2 separate regions of the Homo sapiens genome follow, and region 2 is linked to region 1. Evidence: promoter capture Hi-C in 16 types of primary human blood cells and fetal thymus (Javierre and others, 2016). All regions are on one chromosome and are shown on one strand. Each heading gives the region's core, a stretch centred on a gene start or on the middle of the fragment in contact. The rest is flanking DNA. Distances are from core to core; before and after follow the strand shown. Region 1 has its middle 21 kb from the start of CLEC3B. Region 2 holds the start of LIMD1 (LIM domain containing 1).

Region 1 (5,668 bases), core at 2,043-4,542:
CGGTCTTGATTGGTTTGGAACTTGTTTTACAGCCCTGTGAAGGTTAAGTGTATTTCCACTTTACCAATGAGGAAGAATTCGTATGAATTGTTCAAGGTCACAGGGCAATGAGAGTTGGAGTGGGAACTCTGGTCAGGAGATTCATCCCCATCTGAGCTGTCTGTCATGAAATCCTTTTCCTCCTCATTGTCTTGTACTCTTTAATTTCTTATCCTTTTCTTTCATAGGCAGAATCTAGCACCTTGGGAGCCAGAGTCATAGAACTGGCCAGGACCTGACCAACTAACTACTGCCTGTGCCCTGTAGCCAAAGACCCCCAGGAACAAAATTGGATTTTTTAATTTGTTGCAGTGGGGGAGTCTGTCTGTGATGAGGAACCATGGGGTGTCTCAGTAAGACGGTGTTAGAAGGGACTTCTAATATATATGGGCTCATGTTAACTGATTTGAGAGACGTCTTAAGGAAGCAGGGGTTTGCGCTGGATTGGATGCTATCAGGAGGCAGGAGCAATACTATGAGAGGGCATCTTAATTTTTATGCAGAAGGTGGAATGCGTGCAGCAGGGCTAAAGCTGTGATTGGTTAAAAAAACAGCAAGCAGTCAGTTGTGTTAGCTGGAGTGGGGGATATTTAGTGATTCTTGTGATTTTCACAGTGACCTTGTTTTTGTCCCTACTCAGACGTGATTACAGAATGGTCTTGTTTTTGCCAGCCCCTGTCTGATGCTGGCAATCTGTGAGATAGGCTGTGGTTCAGCAGAAAAACATTACAGCCCAGCCATGAGCACCTGGCCAGTAAGAGCCAGCTGTCAGGGACTACTTTTCTCTTTCTGGCTACAAAGGCAAAGCCTCAGTCCTTAAGTTTCAGCCTGCTCTATATCCCAGACTCATATCTTCATGTTGAATAATGGTCATCACATTTGAAGAGGAAGAAGAAGAGGAGGGATAGACAAGAACAAGGAAGCAGGTTTGTTTGGGGGTGAGGGTAAAATGACATCTTAGCTTAGAGGATTCGTGTCTCTGTGAACTGAATGGATCCGGGGTTCCATTCCTCTATCTGGATAGAATGGAATCCAAAGCCACGTCAGGAAAAAGGATTATGATACCATTGGTGTGCAGGTGTCTTCTACATTATTAGAGAAAGTTCCAGGTGGAGGGGTGGGGAAGGCAATTATGGAGTGCCTGTTCCTTAATACAGATAATTCTCTTAGGAATGCAATCCTTTCCTAAGAGAACACATCTAAGGGAAGCAAAGCTAAGGTAATTGTACATGCCGATTTTCTGGTACATCTCTGATTTTAATAGTATAATTATTCCATTACCTTGTTATAGCTTGTATAATTTTATTATACATATTATATTTTGCATAATTTTGTTTTAGTGAAGGGAATTCATTACTTGTCTGTTCTCTGAGAAGCAGACAGGATGGGATTAGAAGTGTAAGAGATGTTTTGGGGGCAACACCTGTGAAGGATCCAGGGTTCAAGGGAGCAGGAATAGGCAGGGAGAGCCCTCCACAACACAGGTCCCACACCTGTGTAAAAGAGAGAGCAGGAAAGGCTAGGTGGAAGAACCTCAGACTGCAGTACAGTTCTGAGAACATCTTGGCCAGATTGCTGGGGAGTTCCCAAGCTAAAATTCTCCATGAGAGGAGTCACCCTCGTTGGGTAGGAATGGATCAGCACAAACGCTCCTACGTACTCAGTCACTGCCCAGAGGCAGCCGGGGTAAGTCTGGTCTAGTGTCCTTAGGGGTGGCAGCCAAGGCTGTCAGTCCACTCTGCTCCTTGCAGCAGGTTCTGTTAAAGGGATCTGAGTGGTGCCCTCCATGGCCATATTGGCTTCAGCTGCCACTACCACTTTTTTTGAGTCTTTGAATCCATTTAAGTTCTCCTAGAAGCGGAGGCCAAGAAGGAATTAAACATACAAGAGATTGATTAAGGGAAATACCTGTGAAGGATAAAGGCGGAAGAGAGCAGAAAAAAACCCCTATACAAATGTGCCTTAAACTGTATACTGCTGGTGAGTAAATACATTCGTACAAGAGTCTTTGTTTTTGTTTTTTAAAAAAAGCTTTTGTTGTGCATTCTGAATTTTGCTTTGGGAAATATGGTTTCTTTATGTCATGTTAAGTAACAGAATTGCAATTAGAAGCATCAAAAATAAATAAATTCTACTTCAACTACTACATTTTCATGGCACCTTTCTGTGAGGAAATTTGCAGCTACCCTCTACCTCAGTGGTTCTCAGCTTCTCAACTGGGGGTAATTTTTCCCCCCAGGGGACATTTGGACTGGTCTGCAGACATTTTTGGCTATCACAGCTGAAGCAGGGTATTGCTGGCGTCTAGCGGGCAGGGGTCAGGGATGCTGGAAAACATCCTACAATGCCCAGGACAGCCCCCACAACAAAGAATTATCCAGCCCCAAATGCCAATAGTGGCGAGGTTTTGAAACACTGCCCGGCTGATCCTCTTAGTCCTCTTGCAAGGAAACCAGCAGCACAGGTGACTTAAATGGGCACTGAGGGGCATTCTAGATAGGCTTAGTGGGGAGACTTCTGAGACTGGGAGCTCTCATATGGAAAGGATTATCCCTGAACCAGCCCCAGAGCAACAGGGCAACATACAGCCATCTCCTAATGGTAGACCATTCATGGAAATCAAGCATTCTGCAGAATAGCACCCTCTGTCCTATTTAAATGGTAAACTCTGGCTTAATGAATGCCCCAAGTCCCCAGTAGATTTCCAAATATGTAACTAAAACACTCACACACGCACGCACACACACACACACACACACAAATCCCTTATGTAAGTTACAGAAACTATCATGTCAGAAAGTAAAATGCCGTAAAACTCGATTCCAAGCACTACACTTCCTATACAGCAACATCTGAAAGAGGTGTACCCACACCTGCCCTGCCATTCTAACCATTGTCTTTGGGATGTAATCTGAAACTTTCCCAGCCTATCTTGATTAAAATCCACTGAGTCTTGTGGACTGTCAATAGAAATTTTTCTTAAAAACACTGGATGAAAAACATTGAGAGATACATTTTGTGGGGTTTGAGTATTAAAAATCCAGAAGCAACACAGCTTGCCAGGACAAAAGAAAAAAAAGCCAGAGGTATATTTGACATGGAAAATGTTCACTGGAAACATGTGAAGCATATGCTTGTATTTTAGAGCCCCAAAACACTTTTGGGGGGCCAGGAAGAAAGATTTTGTTGACATTTTTTTCCTCCTCATTGACCTCTAACTCTGTGTGTTGTCCTAGTCAAGCTGGTAAGCAGCTCCAAGGGGATGCTGGATCACTGGAGATGTTAGGAGCCCTACATTGAGAGCATGGAAACCTGGATTCCACCTCTGCTTACTTTGTCTTTATCAGTGGTACTCAGAGATGCAGATAGCTTTGTCCTCAACTGCAGGACATGGACATAAACACGAAGGTACGGCCAGGCGCGGTGGCTCACTCCTGTAATCCCAGCCCTTTGGGAGGCAGGCGGATCACCTGAGGTCAGCAGTTCAAAACCAGCCTGGACAACATAGTGAAACACTATCTCTACTAAAAATACAAAAATTAGCCAGGCGTGGTGGCCCGTGCCTGTAATCTCAGCTACTTAGGAGGCTGAGGCAGGAGAACTGCTTGAAGCCAGGAGGTGGAGGTTGCAGTGAGCCAAGATTGCACCATTGCACTCCAGCCTGGGTGACAGAGTGAGACTCTGTCTGAAAAAAAAAAGAAAGAAAGAAAGAAAGTACAATGTTAAGTGTATGTAAGCCCCCAGTTGGGCTCCATCCACCTCCACCCAGCTCTGTGCCCTGGGAGTCTGACCAGACTGCATTGCCCGGACCCACGGCTAGCTGGCTTCCAGCTGGCTTCCCCCAGTGGAAAGCACCTGCAAGAGTTAAGAGGTTGTACAGAGGCAGGTGCTGGGCTCTTTCCTCCCAGTCTCCTCTGTGTGCTTTGCTGCATTTTCTGTCTATGGCTATGTCCTCCACCGAGAGATCGCTTATTGCGTGGACCGGCTATGGCTCCAGCAGCATTATTTCCTCCTGTGGCCTTCTGCCTGACAGGGTACTTCCCGCTGTGGCCAGCCTCTGAATGCCTTAATATCCCTTGTCGTTTTGCTGAATAGTACCCAGAGCTGTGTAAGTATGGGAAGCACTCACTTTGCACAGTAGTCTAGGACTGTAAAATGGCCATGTAAGCTGAAACCATGCAAAACAATCTTAATAATCGATGGGGAAGAGGACGATTGTCCTCTGACCTTTCAAAAATGTTTGTCAAAACATTAAACTTTCTTACTGTCAGTAAGAGAAAAAGTCGCAAAAATTGATATTAAATACACTAATTGAAAACATTAGAAACATTGGAAATTAAAGTGTTTTCTTTGTGAAAATCTTACCGAGAACCGTTTGGACAGTGCTTGCCACTTCCTTCCCATTATATATAGATTTCGATTCAGTGGGTATCTTTTCTATTCCCGGAAAATTGTCATCCTCCTTCTCAAGCTTGGATTAGTTCTTACATTTTATCTTTCTTGCTTTCAATGTCACAAAATATCTCTAAGAATTCCTTTTCGTGGTTTTTTGCTGGCATCATTTCCTCCAGGACATCTTTATCCTTTTTGCCACAGGCACTGTTGTCATTTATGTAGATAAGCTCACGGTCACTACGTTCCTCTGGTTGCATATCCAGAACTTCAAACAGCAGCAGCATCCACCTTCCCACAGTCAGCTTTTTCTTTTCTAACTCCATTTATATTCTACACAAACCTCACTTCCATCATTCTCACTTTGCATTTCTTTGCTGCATTTTTATCTTTATTAGTCAGTTCCCTCTTTCAATTATCCATTTTTGTAAACTGTCACATGAATTTCTCACCAGAAGACAAAGTGCAACACAACTACACACTGTGCTGCCAGTGGATGAGCTGAATAACAGGCACATGGTGCCCAGTCACCAATACACTTTGAAAGAAGCAATGTGGTGGGTCACTGATCATGCAGCATATCTGTTAGTGATGTGTGGCCTGAAGAGTTAGCAGTGAAATTATACTTTAGCAAGGGGCCAGGTGCAGTGGCTCACACTTGTAATCCCAGCACTTTGGGAGGCCGAGGGGGGGACATCACTTGAGGTCAGGAGTTTGAGACCAGCCTGGCCAACATGGTGAAACCCCATCTCTACTAAAAATACAAAAATTAGCCAGGTATGGTGGCATGTGCCTGTAGTCCCAGCTATTCAGGAGGCTGGGGCTGGAGAATCACTTGAACCCAGGAGGCAGAGTTTGCAGTGAGCCGAGATCATGCCACTGCACTCCAGCCTGGATGACAGAGCAAGACTCCATCTCAATAAATAAAAAATAAAATAAAATAAAATTATACTTTACCAGTATAACAATGTAGCTGAAATTTGAACTATCTGGTTGGGGGACTGTGTTATTTAACTAAAACATGATCATTGATATTTAAGCATATCAGAACTGTATAAATTGAGGACTGCCTGTAATCCTTTCAGTCTTTTTTTTTTTTTTTGAGACAGAATCACACTCTGTTGCCCAGGCTGGAGTGCAGTGGTGCGATCTCGGCTCACTGCAACCTCTGTCTCCTGAGTCCCAGTGATTCTCCTGCCTCAGCCTCCCAAGTAGCTGGGATTACAGGTACGTGCCA
Region 2 (6,164 bases), core at 58-2,557, 550 kb before region 1:
ATCACTGGATGGACAAGACTGGTGGGGCTGAGCTTGGGACCAGTGCCAAGGTCTGTGCAGCCAGGCTTCGGCCCCAGCCCAGGGACCGCACCCTGCTGTGAACCGTCCAGACCAGCTGGCGAGGATGACGGGGCAGAACTGGAAAGGTAAGATTTGGGCCCATCCTGGAACCAGGGTTGGGGGTCCACATTGGGTTTGGACATCACACCTGAAACCTCACCCCCCAGCCCCGAGTTTGATCTTGGAAGACCTCCTTGCCTGGGGCAGCTCAGGGCCAAGGGTGCTGACACAGAAGGGGTCCTGGGCTGAACAGGCCCCACAGCTGGTGCTCCGTTCTCCAAGTTTGGGGAAGGCAGGCCAGGGCTCACCCGCTGGGAGGAGGCAGTGGACCAAAGGCCTGTTGGCTTCTCGCTGCTGCGGCCACCAATGCCACTATTCTGACCACCGAGGCTACCCTCAGAAGACCTGCTGGAGCTCAGGGAGAGCTGTCGGTGATTTAGGGGATGGTCCCCGCAGGGTTTGGGCAGTGGTGGGTCACTCCCCGGGGAGCTAGGCCACCCACTCCCTACACTCAGGCCGATGCTGGGGGACACTCCTGGTTTGTCACCCCACTTTGGGCTTGCCAAGGAGAGGTTGTCATAATAGTCTCCATGAGTGAGGCAGGAAGGATCCTCACAGGGGCCTGGCTGGTGGAAAGCAGACATCTCAGAAGTCGCCAGGCTCTCCCTGGAACCACAGTCCTGGCTGCCATGCCTCGTGCCATGCAGGTATGGCCTGGATCTCTGCTCCTGCGGTGGGTACGGGGGCTGCCCAGCAGCGAGGGTGGTGACTGCCCCAGGTGCCCCTGTCGAGGCAGCAAGAGGAGGCTTGGCAGCACCATCCACAGTCAGCTTGCTGCCCACAACTTCCCAACGGGCCTGTGGGCCCAGGCGGCCCCCTCCATTGACAGGGCCTCTACTCCCCCTGGGCAGAGTCTCCTCCTGCAGGAGCTGCTGCTGCTGCTGCTGGAGGTGGATTTTGGCCATCTTGGTGGCGAACACCCTGCGAGTTTCCTCAAACTCGGGGTTGTTGCCTGCACCCTTGTCCACTCGGAAGAGCCCATCCTTAGAGGCCTCATACATGTTCAGGTCCTCGATGAATTTACTGGCCTCCAGGCCCAGGTCGTCATACTTATCCATGCTGCAGACAGGTGTCCGGGCCTAGCCCAGGTGCCGTGTGTGTGTGTGTGTGTGTGTGTGTGTGTGTGTGTGTGTGTGTGTGTGTGTGTGTGTGTGTGTGTTGAGGGCAGCGGGGAGATGCTGGCGAAGGGTCGGGGCTCAAGTCCGGCCCAGTACAAGTAAAGACTTCCACCTGCCTAGCGTGAAGGGCATGACCCCAGGATTTAAGAGTCCAGCCGAAGTTGAGACCTCAACGCCAGCTGGACCAAGTTTGCTTCCAACTCCCTTTCCCCTGGAGACGTCCTTGTTGGGGTAGCTGGTGGCACTTCGCCGTCCCGGGCCTGCTCAGCGGAGTTCTTTTCTCCTCTTCAAATTATAAAAGGAAAAAGAAAACAGCAAAAAAGTAAAATCACATCCTCCTTAGGCAACCAAACACGGAAACTCACAGCAAGGCAGCAGCCGACTGGGCCGGGTGAAGCTGAATCGGCCGGGAGGGCGCCGAGGCCGCGAGTCGGGCCGGAGCAAACGCGCGGCGGCTGAGGCGCAGGTACGTTCCAGGCGCTGGGTCCTCCGCTGCTTCCCCGGAGCTGCGATCCCGGCCGGCGCCTGGCAGGAACGCCGTCCGGGACGCACGGGCGGCCGAGCAGCGGCAGGAAGTTCACGGCAGCTGGGGCTGGCGGCCCATTGTCCGATGGCGGCGGCGGATCGGCGCGCGCGGGCCGGAGGGCGGCGGGACGCGGAAGTGAGTGCGCCAGGCGCAGTCCCTGCTGCTCGCTCGCCGGCTCTGCACGTCCCGAGCCCGCGCCGGGGCGGAGGGGGCGGCCGAGGGGCGGGGACGGCGCGCGGGCGGGCGCCCAGGGGCAGGCCTGCACCCGGCAGCGTGGCTGGGCCTCCTGCCCCCAGGCCTGGCTGGAGAACACCGAGGGGTGCCCCACAAGTCCGTCCCACGCTCTAGCACTGGGACTGCACGGGACTTCGCCGCCGCCACTGCCGCCCCCTGCGAGTCCTGGACCGAATTGGGTGCTCCGACCTCCCTTCCAGCCTCGGGTCCTCAGCCCGGCCCCGCCCCTGGCAGCGCTGGGCGGGGTCCTCCGCTCGGAGACGGGCGGCCTGGGTAGCCTGCATGGGCCCAACACAGGCGCTGGGAGTTTGCGAGGACTTTCGAGGACGCCGCTCCTCGCTCCACTGCCTCAGTTTCCCCGGTGGAAAGCCAGCCCTTTGTGCCTCTCGAGGCCGGCACCGTCCAGGCTGTGCCCGCCGCCCGGCTTGCCCGAGGTGCACTATTGGAGAGGCGCACGGGCGTGTCACCCATGGCTGGCCCACCGTCCTCTTTGACAGGTCGGGAGACTGAGGCAGAGAGGGGGAAATGCCCAACATGCCAACGTAACCAGCAAAGCGTAGATGGGAGCCCGGGCCCTCTGAAAGAGCGAAAAAGAAGAAAGTCTCGTTGTGCCTGCGCGCATTTCACGTCCTCAGTGCAGCAGTAAAAGCACGTGCCCTAGTAGGCTCGTTATTCGTAGAGGGACCCATCTGCAAGTGGATCCGCGCGGCTGCAGGGACACCAGGCCTGACTCCTTGGCGCCCCCGCATGGCCCGGGACTCCCTATACCAGTTCCCAGGCGATCCTGGAGAGGTTTCATTTCCCACACTACAGCCATCGTGATCCTAAGGCAAATACTAGAACAGACACTTCTCTACCTAAATCCTCAGTGCTTACCCCAGAATTAAATTGAAATCGGCCCCTTGCCGCAGCCTTCTGGGCCAGATCTAGGGATCTTCCCTCCCTCCCTGCACTCTAGCTGCAGGAGCTTCCTGGTGTCTGCCCAGAGCTTGCCCCTAAACTGAGTGGCTCATCTTTCCCATCCCTGCTGAAGTCACCTCCTCTTAGAGGCCTCCTCAGAGTGGTTCCTGTTGTTCTTTTTCAGCACCCTCTTTACTTCCTGCTCAGTTCTGATAACTATTTATAATTATTTATTTGTTGGTTAACATGCGTTTTTTTTTGTTTGGTTGGGTGGTAGGTTTCCCACTCCATTTGACCATATCTGTATGCCAAGTGCCTGGTATATATTAATAGTAGTACCTAATGGTCGAATAAGTGAATTAGTGAACCCCTATCTGCCAGAGTTGTGACAGAGAACAAATAAGATAATATATATGAATGTGCTTTATATTCTGTAAACCAGGGGTCCCCAACCCCTGGGCTACTGACCAGTACTGGTCTGTGGCCTGTTAGGAACTGAGTGGCACAGCAGGAGGTGAGAGGAGGCAAGCCAGCGAAACTTCATCTGTATTTACAGCCACTCCCCATTACTGGCATTACCGCCTGAGCTTCACATCCTGTCAGATCAGCAGTGGCATTAGATTCTCAGAGGGGTGCACAAACCTTATTATGAACTACCCTCATGAGGAATGTAGGTTGCACGCTCCTTATGAGAATCTAATGCCCGATGATCTGAGGTGGAACAGTTTCATCCCGTCTGTGAAAAAATTGGCTTCTGTGAAACTGGTGCCAAAAAGATTGAGGACCGCTGCCGTAAACCCAAAGTATGGTTAATGGACTCCATATCACCAGGGAGCTTGTTGAAAATGCAGAATCTTAGGCCCCATTGCCAACCTACTGAATCAGAATCTGCATTTTAACAAGATTTCTGGGCGGTTTATTTGCACAATAAAGTTACAGAAGCACTGCTATAAAGCACTATACTAAAATGAAGTATTTTTATTAAAAAATTTTTTTTGGTTTTTTATCTACAAGTAATACATGTTTCTATAACAACTTTGAACAATACAGACATATATAAAGTTTTAAAAGTTGCCTACCATCCCCTTTCTCAGAGGTAATCATAATTAAACACTCCTTAGGTGTTGGGTAATACTTATTAATTAAAAACTGGATTTTGGAGTGGAAGACTGGCTCACTTTGCCTGACCTCCAAATATGGCAGTTGTAGCTGACAAAGTGCTAGGAATATATGGCCATCCCTCTGCAAAGTCCAGTAAGCTCAGAGCCAGCTTCCTGGGTTTTCAGTTTGGACAGCTGGGACCCTGGTGCAGGAGCCACAGACACCAACCAGTGCTCTTACATTTGTCTTCTCTTTTCATCCTATCTTGGTGATGGCAGCAGTGGTCCATCTGGAGCAGCCACTGCCATGATGCTAGCTGCAATGGCGAGGTGAGGCCGTGACTGCATGCTCCATAGAGCTGGTAGGAGCTAGGAACAGGCAGGAGCCCCACTCCCTTCTGAGTTGGTGGGGCGGGAGCCCTGCCTTCCCAGGCACAGCTGCATCCACCCAGCTGTGGCTGCAGACCTGGGCATCCCTGTGCTCCCGGGGACCTAGAAAGCCCCCCTACTCCCACAGGCTCAGAAGTGCCTGCTCCTGTTGCCTGGCCTCTCCTGGTGCCCATTCTGATTTTGGAGCAAAGTTGAAGCTGAGCCCAGATACTGTCACGACCCAGCTGGGGGTGCACGCACTCAGGGCAGCACTGACACACCAGTCCCCTGCCGCCTCGGCCCCCTCCAGACTTTGGGTGCCGATGAGCATGGGAGGGAGGCCAGGGTGAGGCTGAGGGCAGTTCGGCATGTACCTGCAGGCACCCCTCAGCATGAACAGCCTGGGTGCCATGGGTGCCATGGCCAGCAGGTTGATGGCAGCAGGGGGCAATCAGGCTCCTGGGTGAAATGGGATGGGTCCCCAGTGAAGCCCCCTTCAAGACAGGGACAGCCTGAAACCTAGGGGCTGAGCTATCAGTCCTGCAGACTGGAGTGAGAATTTATGGTGCTTTTCCTGGGCCTGCCTATGGCTGCCGGTGGACCAATCAGCACACACTTCCTCCCTTCTGAAGTCCATAAAAAAAACCAGACTCAGCCAGACTCAGGCAGACAATGGGATGACCTGCCTGCAGATAGGAGCTACCCACTCTGGGTCTCTCTGCTGAAGGCTGCAGAGACATCGGGGCAACCTGCCTGTGGAAGGCAGCTACCCACTGTGGGTCTCTTCTCCACTGAGAGCTGGACACTCATCGGGACAACCTGCCTGAGGAAAGGAGATACCCACTGAGAACAGTTCTGCCACTCAGTGAGGCTCCTTTCTGCCTTGCTCACCCTCCAGTTGTCTGCATACTTCATTCTTTGTGGACACAGGACAAGAACTTGGGACCCACTGGGCAAATGGTGGCACTAAAAGATCTGTAACACAAACAGGACTGAAACACACCCCTTGCTTGCCACGTTGTGGGCAACGAGAAGGAGAGAAGAGAGAAGGAGAAAAGAGAGAAGGAGAGAAAAGCTGCAGCCCTTTGGGGAGCCCAGACCTAGGAGCACCCCAATCCAGGGTTATGATACCCTCTTTGGGGCTCTGCGGTTCCTGGTGTCTCCAAGCTTCCAGGTGCCACCGCATTCCCCAGTGCCAGCGGTGGAAGTTGCCTGTGGTACGCCTGGTCCAGCCACAGCTGTGCCCGTGCTGGCACCTGGAGCTGCCTGCACTGCCACAGCTGGCATGCCTGGCTGTGTGCAGTGGCCAGACCCCATGCTTGCTTGCTCACACAGCTCTCGCTGCTCCATGGCTGGCTTGCCCTTGGCAAGCATGGGATCCACACCAGTAGCACGAGCTGAGCACAGCCTGTCAGGCTAAGTGGGCGAAACAAAACCAGCAGGCCTGAGCAAAACTTGGGCAAAGGCACCACTAGCCACAGAGGTTTCTGTCTGGAAAAGCAACACCCCAAGTATCCTGTGACATTGGCACCTATGTGAGCCCACAATCCTTGATGCCCTCCTGCCTCCCCGTATCTTGGCTTAGCTGAAGTGCTCAGCATTCCAGAAGCTTGTAGGCATTACTCTCCACCCCCACTGCCATTCTAGAACAGTTGCACCATCTCCATCAACTAAACACAAACCTGAATCCACAATCCATGTATTTCCTGCCCCAACTGGGTTGTCCTCTCTTAGTCAATGGATCACCTTACACCGTTACAAAATAGATTATAAAGATGGCATCCCAGCCGAGCACAG

The links. Contacts are between HindIII fragments. The CHiCAGO score rates a contact against its expected background, and 5 or more counts as called.
Region 2: the fragment with the promoter of LIMD1 here is called in contact with a fragment that was not itself captured in region 1 in 4 of 17 cell types (erythroblasts, M1 macrophages, fetal thymus and 1 more); the score reaches 8.0 in erythroblasts.

Annotation. Positions count from the first base shown.
Region 1 is chr3:45,044,450-45,050,117 of GRCh38, reverse strand. No RefSeq gene overlaps it. Among named protein-coding and RNA genes, the nearest start is that of CLEC3B, 21 kb to the right of the region's middle. The HindIII fragment of the contact is 2,440 bases long and covers 2,073-4,512 here.
Region 2 is chr3:45,589,894-45,596,057 of GRCh38, reverse strand. It overlaps LIMD1 (LIM domain containing 1), which reads right to left and starts at 1,307. Exons shown (of 8, transcript NM_014240.3): 1 at 1-1,307. The coding sequence starts at 1,178. RefSeq lists an enhancer at 1,431-1,600 and silencers at 1,691-1,820, 1,831-2,300. The HindIII fragment of the contact is 13,631 bases long and covers 1-5,536 here.